Linked DNA regions of Homo sapiens: regions 1, 2, 3 and 5 are each linked to region 4. The links are contacts of gene promoters, found by promoter capture Hi-C in human tissues and cell types (Jung and others, 2019). All regions are on one chromosome and are shown on one strand. Each heading gives the region's core, a stretch centred on a gene start or on the middle of the fragment in contact. The rest is flanking DNA. Distances are from core to core; before and after follow the strand shown. Region 1 overlaps TUBG2 (tubulin gamma 2). Region 2 overlaps BECN1 (beclin 1). Region 3 overlaps LINC00671 (long intergenic non-protein coding RNA 671). Region 4 holds the start of NBR1 (NBR1 autophagy cargo receptor). Region 5 holds the start of EZH1 (enhancer of zeste 1 polycomb repressive complex 2 subunit).

What was found. The method cuts DNA at HindIII sites, captures the fragments that hold promoters and counts their contacts. A contact is called where the count stands out against the background at its distance.
Region 1: a contact is called between a fragment that was not itself captured here and the fragment with the promoter of NBR1 in region 4, in 1 of the 25 tissues and cell types used here (hippocampus).
Region 2: a fragment that was not itself captured here is called in contact with the fragment with the promoter of NBR1 in region 4 in 1 of the 25 tissues and cell types used here (dorsolateral prefrontal cortex).
Region 3: a contact is called between a fragment that was not itself captured here and the fragment with the promoter of NBR1 in region 4, in 2 of the 25 tissues and cell types used here (liver and mesendoderm cells).
Region 5: a contact is called between the fragment with the promoter of EZH1 here and the fragment with the promoter of NBR1 in region 4, in 2 of the 25 tissues and cell types used here (heart left ventricle and liver).

What each region holds. Positions count from the first base shown.
Region 1 is chr17:42,666,333-42,669,032 of GRCh38, forward strand. TUBG2 (tubulin gamma 2) reads left to right here. Exons shown (of 11, transcript NM_016437.3): 10 at 1-152; 11 at 271-674. The coding sequence ends at 468. PLEKHH3 (pleckstrin homology, MyTH4 and FERM domain containing H3) reads right to left here. Exons shown (of 13, transcript NM_024927.5): 13 at 1,582-1,971. The coding sequence ends at 1,795. Among named protein-coding and RNA genes, the nearest start is that of TUBG2, 8.4 kb to the left of the region's middle. RefSeq lists an enhancer at 1,898-2,473. The HindIII fragment of the contact is 5,317 bases long and covers 1-2,700 here.
Region 2 is chr17:42,815,002-42,817,701 of GRCh38, forward strand. It overlaps BECN1 (beclin 1), which reads right to left. Exons shown (of 12, transcript NM_001313998.2): 8 at 907-1,053. Among named protein-coding and RNA genes, the nearest start is that of MIR6781, 7.6 kb to the right of the region's middle. The HindIII fragment of the contact is 7,607 bases long and covers 1-2,700 here.
Region 3 is chr17:42,883,140-42,885,839 of GRCh38, forward strand. LINC00671 (long intergenic non-protein coding RNA 671) reads right to left here. Exons shown (of 6, transcript NR_027254.1): 3 at 1,456-1,547. Among named protein-coding and RNA genes, the nearest start is that of LINC00671, 14 kb to the right of the region's middle. The HindIII fragment of the contact is 4,241 bases long and covers 1-2,700 here.
Region 4 is chr17:43,169,803-43,172,502 of GRCh38, forward strand. It overlaps NBR1 (NBR1 autophagy cargo receptor), which reads left to right and starts at 1,412. Exons shown (of 21, transcript NM_005899.5): 1 at 1,412-1,500. It overlaps LOC101929767 (a long non-coding RNA gene), which reads right to left and starts at 601. Exons shown (of 2, transcript NR_110868.1): 1 at 324-601. It overlaps LOC124900391 (a long non-coding RNA gene), which reads right to left and starts at 1,162. Exons shown (of 2, transcript XR_007065760.1): 1 at 614-1,162. It also overlaps a transcript of BRCA1 not described here and the pseudogene BRCA1P1. RefSeq lists enhancers at 233-442, 713-762, 1,013-1,122, 1,443-1,552. The HindIII fragment of the contact is 14,047 bases long and covers 1-2,700 here.
Region 5 is chr17:42,743,632-42,746,331 of GRCh38, forward strand. EZH1 (enhancer of zeste 1 polycomb repressive complex 2 subunit) reads right to left here and starts at 1,409. Exons shown (of 21, transcript NM_001991.5): 1 at 1,380-1,409. RefSeq lists a silencer at 987-1,566. The HindIII fragment of the contact is 12,026 bases long and covers 1-2,700 here.

The DNA.
Region 1 (2,700 bases), core at 195-2,694, 500 kb before region 4:
GCCTGCAGAGGATCCGGGAACGGAAGTTGGCCAACTTCATCCCGTGGGGCCCCGCCAGCATCCAGGTGGCCCTGTCGAGGAAGTCTCCCTACCTGCCCTCGGCCCACCGGGTCAGCGGGCTCATGATGGCCAACCACACCAGCATCTCCTCGGTGAGTCTAGGTTTCTATTCTTCTTAGAAGAGTCTGTTCCACTGGCCACCTTCATCATCTTCCCCAAGTTCACTCCTAACCCCCTGGCTCGCATTTTGGAGATTTTCATCTCTTTCAGCTCTTTGAAAGTTCCTGCCAGCAGTTTGACAAGCTGCGGAAGCGGGATGCCTTCCTCGAGCAGTTCCGTAAGGAGGACATGTTCAAGGACAACTTTGATGAGATGGACAGGTCTAGGGAGGTTGTTCAGGAGCTCATTGATGAGTACCATGCGGCCACCCAGCCAGACTACATTTCCTGGGGCACCCAGGAGCAGTGATTTCCCTCCCCACTACTCCTTCTCCTTCTAGATGGTAACCACAGCCTCGACCATGCCTGCTCCCTCTGACCCAGCTTCACCTCATGGACAACCCTTCTTGGTTCATCTCCAGCCCGTGAGCTGGTCCTGCTTCCTCCCTTCCATGCCCTAACTTTTAATATGCTTGTTCAGCTCTAATAAAGTAATAAAGCTTGGTTGTCAGTATAGCCAGGGCTTGATCTGTGAATACGGGGGGGTGGTGAAGGGGTCCAGTTTCTAGGCATCTGACAGTAGGGTGGCCTTCACCTCCTCCAACGTCTTATCACTTAGTCCAAATCTTAGTGTGTTCACTGTTTCCATTGGCATCCCTCACCTTGAACTAGGCTGTTTAGTATTACTAGAGTCAGCCCTTGTCTCAAGATTACAGAGCTTTACTGAGGTTTGCTGTCTCCTCAGCGCCTAAGCTTTGCCCCAGTGAGGGTCAATGTTGCCCCAACCTCTTCCACTCAGGGCAGAGGAGGTGGGGTCTACTGAAGGAGGGCACACTACATTCTGAGCAGGCCAGGAGAGCCAAGGTTCCAGATTCCCAGTGCCCAGGGCCATGAGAGTTCCAGGAACTCAATCCAGTTCAACCCAACCTGATAAGTAGAAACAGAATTCAAGAGTAGGGCTGAGCACATCCTGAGTTACTTTTCTGTGCCAGAGAAATTCGTGGGTTTGTTATCTGCCCCAAGCTTCTCTCCATTCTAGGCCCAAAGCATTAGGCACACCAATGATGGGCCCAGAGGTGGACAACGAGTAAGAAATGGGCAGTGCCAGATCTGATGACTCACTGCCCTCCAGCCTCAGGGATTCCAGGAGGCCATCTGTATGCCACTCAGTGGAGAAGGGAGGGTGAGTAACTGCCAGCTTCCAATGAGGCCTGTTTGCCTGCTCCACCCACAAACCTGTGGCAGCACACTGGCCAGGAGGAGGTTAAGTCTGGAAGGTCAAGGAGGGGGAGGGTGAAGCGCTGTGGTGTCCAGACTTCCCCCAGAGCCTGGTAAAAGCCCAGGGTGTGGGCATCCCCAGAGGCGGGGCTCTGCGTTATGGGGTTCCAACTTGTCCCACTGAATAACACTCCCACAGGAAGGGTTTGTGTAAATAAGAAACTTTTTTTTTTTTTTTGCTTCTCTTCTACAAATAAATTAAGAAACAAACTAGAAAATTACCCACACCCATTGTAGCCCTTGGGTGTGGGATGTGCCCTGTCCCTGCAGGGCCAAAAGGGTCCATGTTTCCCTCAAATCTCAGAGCAGTCCTGGCCCAGGCTGCAGGCAGGAGGGAAGTCGTGACCTCTTGGCAGGCTCAGTCCTGCAGCTGCCCCAAGCAGCCAGACTGTCCCTGGGGCTCGTCCAGGCCCGGGCGCTGGCTGGGAGGGGAGGTGTCTGGCAGGTCTTGGCATGGAGGAGAAGAGCTGCTGCAGGGCCTCTCGGGGGAGGGGTTGGCCAAGTAGGCATTCACCAGCTGCATGATCTCTTCCACCTAAGAGAGGGCAGAGGTCAGTGTGCAACAGGGGCTGCCAGGTTCTCTTCTTTTTCTCATCCTTTCTCCAGGCTCTAGGGCTCCAGCTTCCCCACCAGGGTCCTACGTGCTCTGGCCCTGCAACCTTTCCTTCCTTATCACCACTCTCTCCTTCATTTCTTTTTTGTTTTTTGAGACGGAGTCTCGCTGTGTCCCCCAGGTTGGAGTGCAGTGGCGCGATCTCAGCTCACTGCAAGCTCCGCCTCCTGGGTTCACACCATTCTCCTGCCTCAGCCTCCTGAGTAGCTGGGACTACAGGCGCCCGCCAACACGCCCGGCTAATTTTTTGTATTTTTAGTAGAAACAGGGTTTCACCGTGTTAGCCAAGATGGTCTCGATCTCCTGACCTCATGATCCGCCCATCTCGGCCTCCCAAAGTGCTGGGATTACAGGCGTGAGCCACCGCGGCCGGCTTCTCTCCTTCATTTCTATGTGCCAGTTATACTTGGTTCTTTCTGCTCTTCTAACATTTTTTTTTGTTGTTGTTGTTGTTGTTGTTGTTGAGACGGAGTCTTGCTCTGTTGCCAGGCTGAAGTGCCTCGGCTCACTGCAACCTCCGCCTGCCGGGTTCAAGCAATTCTCCTACCTCAGCTTCCCGAGTAGCTGGGACTATAGGTGTGCGCCACCAGCCCCAGCTAATTTGTATTTTTAGTAGAGATGGGGTTTCGCCATGTTGGTCAGGATGGTCTC
Region 2 (2,700 bases), core at 120-2,619, 350 kb before region 4:
TTCCTACTGATGAGTATCCTTTCCAACGATTCCACCCCTTTACCCCAAGTCATTCCCCATGGTGCAGGAAAAGCCATCATTCACGAATACAAGTGTAATTACGTCACTTCCCTAGCTAAAATGCTTCAGTGTCTCCTCTGCCTTTTGGATGAAGTCCAAACCTCTTAACGAGGCCTACGAGATCCTTCAGGAACTGGTAACTCTCCAGTTTCATATCCGGCCACTCTCCCCTTTACACTCAATCTTCAGTCACAATAAGCTCCTTTCTGTTCTCTGAATTCACCACTCCCTCTTTCCCATTTCTTTGCACATAATGTTCTCTCTGCTAGGAACAACCCCCTCTCTGCAGACTTCTACTTTACCTCTCAGTTTAAACGTAAGTCCCCTATGGGGAAACTCTCCATATGGCCTCCCCAAACTGGATCAAGTGCCCTTATGTGTTCCCACAGCACCCTGGGTTTACCATCATCACACTGCATTACAACTGCTTGTTATTTATCCATCTCTTCCACCAGATTATATGCAACTAGAAGGTTGACTGCATACTGTTTTGCTGTTGCCCTCCTAGCACTCAGCACAGTGCCTTTTCCAGAGTAGACACTCAACAGTTATTAAATTAATGGAACATCAAACACCGTGGGGATAAGAAATCAGCACCAGACAGCTTACCAGGTTTTTAAGTGGCTGAAGGGCTCAGGCCTTTTCCTTTCTTTAGAAGGGCGGATGTCACCAAGCTCTAGAATTCCAATCCCTACTGTGCCTATCCCATCACTATGAATGAAAGAAACCTAGTTGGGTGAAGATAACCTACAGTCCCTCTTTTGTGGGAAGTGGGCACCCAGGCTTAGTGGTCAACAGCTAAGGTCTAGATATGTGCAGTGCTCCTCATCCCCTAGCTCTCATTACCAGATGTGGAAGGTTGCATTAAAGACGTTGGTTTTCTTCAGCTTATCCAGCTGCGTCTGGGCATAACGCATCTGGTTTTCAACACTCTTCAGCTCATCATCCAGCTCCAGCTGCTGTCGTTTAAATTCACTGTATTCTCTCTGATACCTGTGAGCAGCCAAGGGGGCCATTGAAGGCTGTTAGCTTGGGGGCTAAAGTTTCTCTCTCACCACACTATGAACGATTCTTTAGTGATCATCGTTACATCTAGCTCTCGCATCTTTTATATTTGGCATAGATCCCATTCTGAGGAACATGTATGTCCTAGCTGTTTTGCCTGGAAGGAACAGAAATGTCTCAAATTCCAGCTGCCCATATGCAAAAAGGTGGAGGAAAAAAGAATTCTCCCAAACCAGGGCAAAAAACCTCTTATTTCTGATCTTTTTCAGAAGTGAGGTGAATGGGTTAGGAGTGGCTTCTTGGGGCCAGGCGTGGTGGCTCACACCTGTAATCCCAGCACTTTGGGAGGCCAAGACGGGTGGATAACTTGAGGTCAGGAGTTCGAGAGCAGTCCGGCCAATGTGGTGAAACCCTGTCTCTACTAAAAATACAAAAATTAGCCAGGCGTGGTGGTGCACACCTGTAGTCCCAGCTACTTGGGAGGCTGAAGTGGCAGAATTGCTTCAACCCAGGAGGCAGAGGTTGCAGTGAGCTATCACACCACTGTACTCCAGACTGGGCAACAGAGCCGAGACTCTGTCTCAAAAAAAAAAAAAAAAAAGAGTGGCTTCTGCTTCTTCTGGGCCGGGTGCAGTGGCTCACACCTGTAATCCCAGCACTTTGGGAGGCTGAGGTGGGCAGATCACCTGAGGTCAGGAGTTAGATGCCAGCCTGGCCAACATGGTGAAATTCCGTCTCTACTAAAAAAATAAAATTAGCCAGGCGTGGTGGCGCACGCCTGTAGTCCCAGCTACTTGGGAGGCTGAGGTAGGAGAATCGCTTGAACCTGGGAGGTGGAGGTTGCAGACAACTGAGATCATGCCACTGCACTCCAGCCTAGGCAACAGAGTGAGACTCTGTCTCAAAAAAAAACCAAAATCAAAAACAAAAAACAGTGGCTTTTTCCAGCTGGCCATGGTGGCTTATGCCTGTAAACCCAGCACTTTGGGAGGCTGAGGCAGGTGGATCACTTGAGCTCAAGAGTTCAAGACCAGCCTGGGCAACATGGGGAAACTCCATCTCTATAAAAAATACAAAAATTAGCCAGGTATGGTGTTGCGCGCCTGTAGTTCCAGCTACTTGGGAGGCTGAGGCGGGAGGATTGCTTAGGTGTAGGAAGTCAAGGCCGCAGTGAGTCATGACTGCACCACTGCACTCCAGCCTGGATGACAGAGTAAGACTCTGTTTCTAAAAAAAAAAAAAACAAAAAAACAGTGGCTTCTTCCATGAACTGGCCATAATTGGCCTTCTAAAGCTTCATTTCTATACACTTACTGTCCTTTAAATAGTTACTATACCCCACTTCCAGTGAAACTTGTTATACTACTGTGTGAAAAAAATGGACTTTTCTCTATCCTTCATTTCCACAACTTCAGTTAGTATGGACACTGTGTGTCCTCCACTAGAGAGAGGGTTCTCTCAGGTCAAGGACATCTATAATGTTTTTATTTTTTGAGACAGGGTCTCAACTCTGTTGCCCAAGCTGGAGTGCAGAGGTGTGATCACAGCACACTGTAACCTCAAACTCCTGGGCTCAAGTTATCCTCCACTTCAGCCTCCTAAGTAGTTGCTAGGACTACAGGTCTACCACAGCAG
Region 3 (2,700 bases), core at 86-2,585, 290 kb before region 4:
GGTACTGTGCTAGGTGCTGGCGGGGGAGACAGTGGGTCCCAGACAGACAGACATGGCCCCCCGACTGGCTTGGCCCAGGGGAGATGCTGCTGGAACAAGAAAACCTCTCTGATGGTTCTTGGAAGTGGGAGCTGGCCCGAGGCCCTCCATCTGCCCCTCATCTCCCTCTCAGAGGCTGTTGCTTCTTCTCTCAGACCCTCTGGCCCCAGCTTCCCTGTAGCTGCCACAGAAACCTCATCATATGAAGGGAAAGAGGCTGTAGCATTCTCAGTAGGGCCCGGGTCTCAAACACCTCCATGCTGCATGTCTCTTATACCACTTTTTTTTTTTTTGAGACGGAGTTTTGCTCTGTTGCCCAGGTTGGAGTGCAAGTGCCATGATCTCGGCTCATTGCAACCTCTGCTTCCCGGGCTTAAGCGATTCTTGAGCCTCAGCCTCCCAAATGGCTGGGACTACAGGCACGCACCACCATCCCCAGCAAATTTTTGTATTTTTAGTAGAAATGGGGTTTCGCCATGTTGCCCAGGCTGGTCTCAAACTCCTGAGCTCAGGCATTCCATCTGCCTTGGCCTCCCAAAGTGCTAGGATTACAAGCATGAGCCACAGTACCCAGCCCCTTATGCCTCTTAACTTTACATCTCCGGGTCAGAATATGATGGGGAATTCTCCCTTTCTCGAGGACCTCCAAGGAATGTGATGTCTGTCACTCCCAATTCTCCTATTGAGAAGGAAAAGCCAGTACAGGACAGAATACTCTGGGCCAGATAATTTCCATCTTTGTTTCACTTAATCCGCATAACAACCTTGAAAGGCAGATGTTAATTACACCCATTTCACAGATGCAGAAACTACAATTCAGAGAGATTAGGAAACATGCCCACAGTCATCTGGCTGGTAAAAGGTGGGGCTGGGAGTGAACCCAGATCTTTGCAGAATTACACCTCACGGCCTTCCCTGGGCCGTGGCTCTTTTTCCACTGCCTGGTAGGCCTGTTTGAAGAATTAAACAAGGTATCAGACTCATCTGAATATTGTAAGAAAAAAAAAAAGAATGAAACAAGGTAATGCTTGAGAAACCCTTGGCACCTGATCCATATTAAGTGACCCTCTCAGAGCAAAGTCATCACTCAAATGACAAGGGCAGAAATATGCAGAGCTGCTTTTCACAAAGGTGCTCAACCTTGACTGCACATTGAAATCACCTGGGAAGCTTGTAAAACTCCACATACTCGGACTGCGCCTCAGCCTGATATGATCAGAGCCTCTGGGGGCAAACCACAGACATGACTGGCTTTTAAATTTCCCCGGGTGATTCTACTGTGTAGCCAAGGTTGGGAGAACTCTGGAGATGGTAGTTCAGTTCCAAGCCTCCCAAGAGGAAGCTGACTAGAGAGTCTAAGACATAAAGAATGTGTCCATCAGAAGGTGCAGAAAGGGGCCAGGCACAGTGTCTCACCTATAATTCCAGCACTTTGGGAGGCTGAGGCAGGCAGATCACTTGAGTCCAGGAGTTCGAGACCAGCCTGGCAACATGGCAAAACCCTCTCTCTACAAAAATACCAAAAAAAAAAAAAAAAATTAGCCAGGATGGTGACATGCACCTGTGGTCCCAGCTACTAGGGAGGCTGAGGTGGGAGGATCATTTGAGCCTGGGAGGCAGAGGCTGCAGTTAGCCAAGATCATGCCACTGCACTACAGCCTGGGCGACAGAGTGAGAAGACCCCGTCTCCCTCAGAAAGAGAGCATCACAGAGCCTGCCCTGACAGTGACAATCAGCCACATTTGGAGCAGAGGACCTGGCCAGGGCCAGGACACGTCCTGTCCTAGAGGCACTTTAGCCATGCACATGGAGTCATCGGGCCTTATTGAAGCTATATTGTGACCAACTGCTGGTTCTGATTCCCAGCTCGACAGGCCAGCTTCCCACCACATCATGGTGATGGGAAGAAAATGGACACATCACTTACATCTCTTTTTGTAAATGAACTAATTGACATTCTAATAAGAATTACTTTTGCTTTGACAGTTACAGTAAATCAACAGATTGACCTTCAGGTGTAATTTTGGTATATATAGACCTTCCCTGAAAGACAATTCCCATTGGTGAGCTGAGGAATCTGGTTTCTGATTCAGGCTTCTCCCTTGGAGTGGGGTGAATTCACCAATAAACCATCTTGAGATATCTTGGGAGATGTCAGCCAGCCTCATCTGATGCAACCAGCCTAGCCACGGACTTCACGTCTAACTTTCAGAGCAGAGACTCCATGTCAGCAAATTCCTCGCCTCCTTCCCTCCTCTCCTATAGTTTTGGCTTTTTGTATTGTTTTGTTTTTGTTGTTGTTTTGTTTTGTTTTTGTTTTTGTTTTTGAGACAGAGTCTCACTCTGTCACCCAGGCTGGAATGCAGTGGCGCGATCTTGGTTCACTGCAACCTCCGCCTCCAGGTTGAAGTGATTCTCCTGCCTCAGCTTATTGAGTAGCTGGGATTACAGGCGCCCGCCACCACGCTCAGCTAATTTTTGTATTTTTAATGGAGATGGGGTTTCACCATGTTGTTCAGGCTGGTCTCGAACTCCTGACCCCAGGTGATCTACCCACCTTAGCCTCCCAAAGTGCTGGGATTACAGGCTTGAGCCACTGTGCCCAGCCTGTTTGTTTTCTGAGACAAGGTGTTTCTGTGTCACCCAGACTGGAGTGCAGTG
Region 4 (2,700 bases), core at 162-2,661:
GTTATCTGAGAAACCCCACGGCCTGTCCCCCGTCCAGAACGTCTCAGCGAGCTCACGACGCGCAGTCACGTTTTTTTCCCCCCCTCTACACTGCAGATGTGGCTCCCAATGTTGACGTTGGCCAGGACCTTTGCAAACAAGCCAGGCCAAAAAGTTTCAATATTTACACTGGCTGCTTTAATAAGGGCATTGATCTTATCCTCCGTAAAGGTCACCTCATAGTCCTGCAGAATGAGGGCAGAGTAGATGCAGGCAAGCTGGGAGACGGAGGCCATAGCGCGGGCGAGTGTGGGGCTGGGGCTGCCGGACGCGGTGCTACTCACCGGATGAAGTGAGGGTCTCACCCCAACGCGGCCTTAGCTTCCTCGGAAGGACCGAACACCTTGGCGGCAGCCGAGGAAAGGGGTTCCACAGTTTTAATTTATCTGTAATTCCCACGCTTTACTGTTGCCACGGAAACCGCTGAGCAATAGCCTCTCAGAATAGGAAATCAAGACACAGTCAGAGGAAGGGCGGGACAGAAAGAGCCTAGCATCTCTCGGGGCTCTGGGTTGGCCACCCAGTCCTCCCCTGGTGACATAAAAAGAAAGAGACGGAAAAGGAAGAATTCTACCTGAGTTCGCCGTAAAGCGCCCGCCCTCTCGCCTCTACGCTTCCAGTTGCGGCTTATTACGTCACAGTAATTGCTGTACCAAGGTCAGAATCGCCACCTGAGGCCTGAATATCAGCGTAAGATAGTGTCCAAAGCAGTCTTAAGAAGAGGTCCCATTACCCCACTCTTTCCGCCCTAATGGAGGTCTCCAGTTTAGGTAAATAAAAGGATTGTTGGGAGGTGGAGGGAAAGAACTACTATTTCCAACATGCATTGCGGAACGAAAGGCCTTGGCCACACTGTTCCTTGGAAACTGTAGTCTTATGGAGAGGAACATCCAATACCAAAGCGGGCACAATTCTCACGGAAATCCAGTGGATAGATTGGAGACCTCCGCGGGCTTATACATGTCAACAGTAATGGATTGGAGTGTTGTTATGTTCTCCTATCTTGAGAGCAGAGACTAGGCCAAAAAAAGATACCTACAACTCCTAGGAAGACTACGATTCCCATCCAGCCCCACGAGTCTCGGGCAAGTAGTCCTCTAAGGTCAGTGGCCTGCGGGGACGCAGTGGGCGCCGAATTTGCCTGGGGAAGGGGAAATCCGCTCTGGCCCACATCTGCGCACTCCTAGTTCCGCCCCTCAGCCTCAATGTTTGTTATTGTTGTTCGGGTTCAGGTTGCTTCTGCCCCGCCCCATCGACGCAATCTCCACCAATCAATGGCGTGGTCGTTTTGAGGGACAAGTGGTGAGAGCCAATCATCTTGGCGAACACTCGGAGAAACAGGGGACTAGTTACTGTCTTTATCCGCCATGTTAGATTCACCCCACAGGGATAGCGGCAGAGCCGGTAGCGGACGGTCCTTGCATTGGCCTCCGGCAGGCGCCCCCCGGGGGCGGGAAGCTGGTAAGGAAGCAGCTGCGGTTACCTAGGGGTGGGGTCACGTCACGCTAAGAGGGTTTGGGGAAGTTCAAGGGAGGAATCCTGCAAAGAAGAGGGGCGACTTTTTCCGTGTTTCGGGACAGCTAATCTTTTTAGTGACAGGATGAGAGAGCCCTTCATGTTCAGAGGGACCGAGTTGGCGAGAAGCGCCGGAGAGTTGGAGAGTCTGTGGGTCAGAACATCCGGCTTCTACTGATGGAAGGCCACGACTCCCCAGTGGAATGAGGGCCTAGGCAAAGAAAATGAGAGAGCCCTCGGGGTAGTGACACTGTCTTGGGAACATGGAGTGCTAGGAAACGAAAACTGGAAGACTAGGATGAACTCTGCAAGTAAAAAAATGACACTACTTACACATCCTTCTCATCCCATCCTCGTTTTTTCGAGACCTTAAAGAGATCTCCTTGGTTAGGGACCTTCGGTTTTGGAAAGGCACTGTTTTTCCTTTTTGTCAAACACTCAGCTTTCAGGCCACACTTTTTTGAGACAGAGTCTTGCTTTCTCAAAGACCAACCCAGGCTGGGCTTGAACTGCTGAGCTCAAGCGATCCTCGTGCCTTGGCCTCCCAAAGTGCTGGGATTACAGGTATAAGCCACCGCTCCCGGCCTCAGGTCACACATTTTAAAGCCTGGATAACTTGGCTTGTAAAGGCCTCTGGTGGAGACAGTAATCAAAGCTCAGGTTGCCAGGTCTGTTTCATTAAAGGGATTTTGTTGAGGCTGAAAAAAAAATCGACGTGGAGGAAAAGCTAACTTGTGCCAAGCAAAGGTGAGTCAGTGGCATGGACTTACAATAATGCCAGTTATGAAAGCTGAAGGCCTAAGACCCAGCTATCTGACTCTACTGGCTGTAGACCTAAGGGGCAGATAGGGTTAACCATAGCTTTGGTGTTTACACACGTTTAAGATTAATGCTCCTGCTGAAAGAATTTTTTTACATGTCAGCCAAAGAGAGTTCCTTATGAAGACCTGGATATGGTCCAGCCAAGCTAGAATCTCCCACTTCCTGTTTTCTCTTAGTTGGCCCACCAGCTGGAGGAGCTCCAGAGTATCTAAATTTCCAATTGTGTAATTTGAGAAAAAGAGAGGAAGATTCATTTCCTTCACAAGTAGGGAAGTGTGTTTCTTGAAGTTGGAAAGTGATATTTCAGAATACCCACTTTTGGCG
Region 5 (2,700 bases), core at 159-2,658, 430 kb before region 4:
GCTATTTTTTTTTTGTAGAGATGAGGTCTCGCTATTGTTGCCTGAGCTGGTCCCAAACTCCTGGGCTCAAGCTATTCTCCTGCCTGGGCCTCCCGAATGCTGGGATTTCAGATATGAGCCACCGAGCCCAGTCTAAAGTACTTATCTCCTAACACACACTCTCTCCTATGTAAGTAATCTCTTTTATCAGTGGCATATCTGGGGATTCCAAGACTTAAAATAGACAAGCTTTCACAGAAACCTCTAATAGGGTTAGCACCTTCTCAGGCTGGAAACCTCCTTCAATATCAGTTTCCTAAATTTAAAAAACATGGGGTGTGGGAATTTTTTTATTCAGCGGCAGTATGGCAGCAAACGTGGAGGAGACTCGCGTTTTCATTGCCATCCTTGCACCCACCTAATTGTTAGTGTACCTGAGCTCCTTTGCTTTCATCCTCCCCTGCCAAGCGTCAGGTTCCTATCGGCCTGGGCTACATCACATACAACCCTGTATTTCACCCTCCATATTCCTTCACATTCCACGGGGGGCACTAACATCCTTCAGGTATCCCTTCCCTTCCCTGCTCAAGAAACAATTCCTCAGTAGTCACTTTTTATTGAAATAAAAGTTTGTCCCACATTTCCTAACAGGCATGTCCCAAATACAACACCTTGTCTGTGCTTCAAGGCACTTTTATTTATATCATTTGATCCTCGGTTGAATGGTGGGGGTGAGCGATCATTGGCGTGAGACCAAAAGTCTGGAGTGAAGGAGATTCTTGCTCAGGGCCAGGCCTGGGGTGAGGCGACCGAGGCACCCAGGACGCACGTGAGGAGGCGCTCACTGCACTTGCGCGACCCTGAGTCAGTGCTCCTTTACACTTTGTGCCTTGGGAGCCTTACTCACCTCACCCTAGTCCCGGCCTTGTTTTTACTGCTACCCCTCCTCAACATCCCCGAAAGCCATCGCAAGATCAGCCCCGGTCTCTAGCCCTCCCCAAGCACAGCTCCAGGTCCCCAGAGTCCACCTCGCTAAAGGCCCCCGCAGGTGCCACCGCCCTCCCGCGCCCTTTGGGCGCTGGGGCTCCCGCCCACCGGCCCACACCGCCATCCAACGGGATTCCCCGTCCCCGAGCCCGCCCCCGCCGCTCCTCCTCCCGGGCACACAGCCCTCGCAGCCCCAGACGCTGTCCTCGCCTGGGTCTCTCTCGCCCCGTCGCCCCCATTCCCCCACCCTCGGAATGAGGAGGGGCGCCTGCTACCCCCGGCCAGGCAGGCAGTGTGTCCCTCGGATTCCTTCCAATTTCCTGATCCCTCCGCCTCTCCCTCCCTCAGGCCCAGGGCGGCGAGGGGAGGAGGCCCGGCCCCACCGCCCGGCCCAGGCTTGTTTACTCACTCACCCTCCATCCCGAGCCGCGGGTCCCGCTGCTAGGACGCATGCGCGCCGCGGCCCCACCCCTGCGCCGTGCCCCGCCCCGCGCCTCCTGTCGGCGCGTGCGCATTGACTTACCCGTGCCGCGCGGACGCACTACTGTCATTTGCCGCCAAAACCCCGCACTCAGGAGTCCTGGCGGGTGCAGCCTCCCAGACGGCTTCCAAAGCGGCGCTGGCAGGGGAGGGGAAGGGCTCTGGGGAAACCTTCGCAGAGCCACTAATATCTTCCTGAAGACCCTATTCAGCGGATTTGCCATCCCCACGCGCTGGTGACAAGCCACATCTCACTTCAGCGTTTGAAGCCAACCCAGATCACCTTCATACCGATGCTTCACCCCTACCAGTTCTCCAGACACCGGTCTATGGGTTCTAAGCCCTTTATTTATGTCTGATCTCCCTATTTCTGTTCATAGTTTTCTAGTCACTTAGAATCAAAATTATAGCCTTGTATCGAAATAAATCCCCACAAGACACCTGCTAGTTACAAAGGGAAAAAAATAGCAACTTTACAGATAAGAATCTGTCAGACACCACCTTAACTAAGTGATCAAAGTTAGCATCACTAGTGATAAGAGGTATTGTTTTCTTCTTCTTTTTTTGCCGGGGGGCGAGGCTGGACGGAGTCTCGCTTTGTTACTTACACAGGCTGGAGTGCCGTGGCGCGATCTCGGCTCACTGCAACCTCTCCCTCCCGGGCTCAAGCAATTCTCCCGCCTCAGCCTCCCAAGTAGCCAGGAATACAGGTTCGTGCCACCACGCCCGGCTAATTTTTGTATTTTTAGTAGAGATGGGGTTTCACCGTATTGGCCAGGCTGCTGTCAAACTCCTGACCTCAAGTGATCTGCCTACCTCGGCCTCCCAAAGTGCTGAGATTACCGGCATGAGCCACCACGCCCGGCCTCCCTCTTCTTTTTAAGGAGACAGGGTCTTGCTGTGTTGCCTAGGCTGGTCTTGAACTCCAGGGTTCAAGCCATCCTCCCACCTTGATTTCCCAAAGTGTTGGGATTACAGGCATGAGCCATTGCCCCCAGCTGAGAGGTATTCTTACCAGGTCCCTCTGAACATGATGCAATGAGAAGCGCACAAAATCACTTCTGTGGTATTCTTGACGAACACGCATAAGCTGATTTTTTGTGCGTGTTGTTTGTTTGTTTGTTTTGAGACAGTTTCACTCTTGTTGCCTAGGCTGGAGTGCAATGGTGCAATCTCGGCTCACTGCAATCTCTGCCTCCTGGGTTCAAGCGATTCTCCTGCCTCAGCCTCCCAAGTAGCTGGGTTTACAGGCAT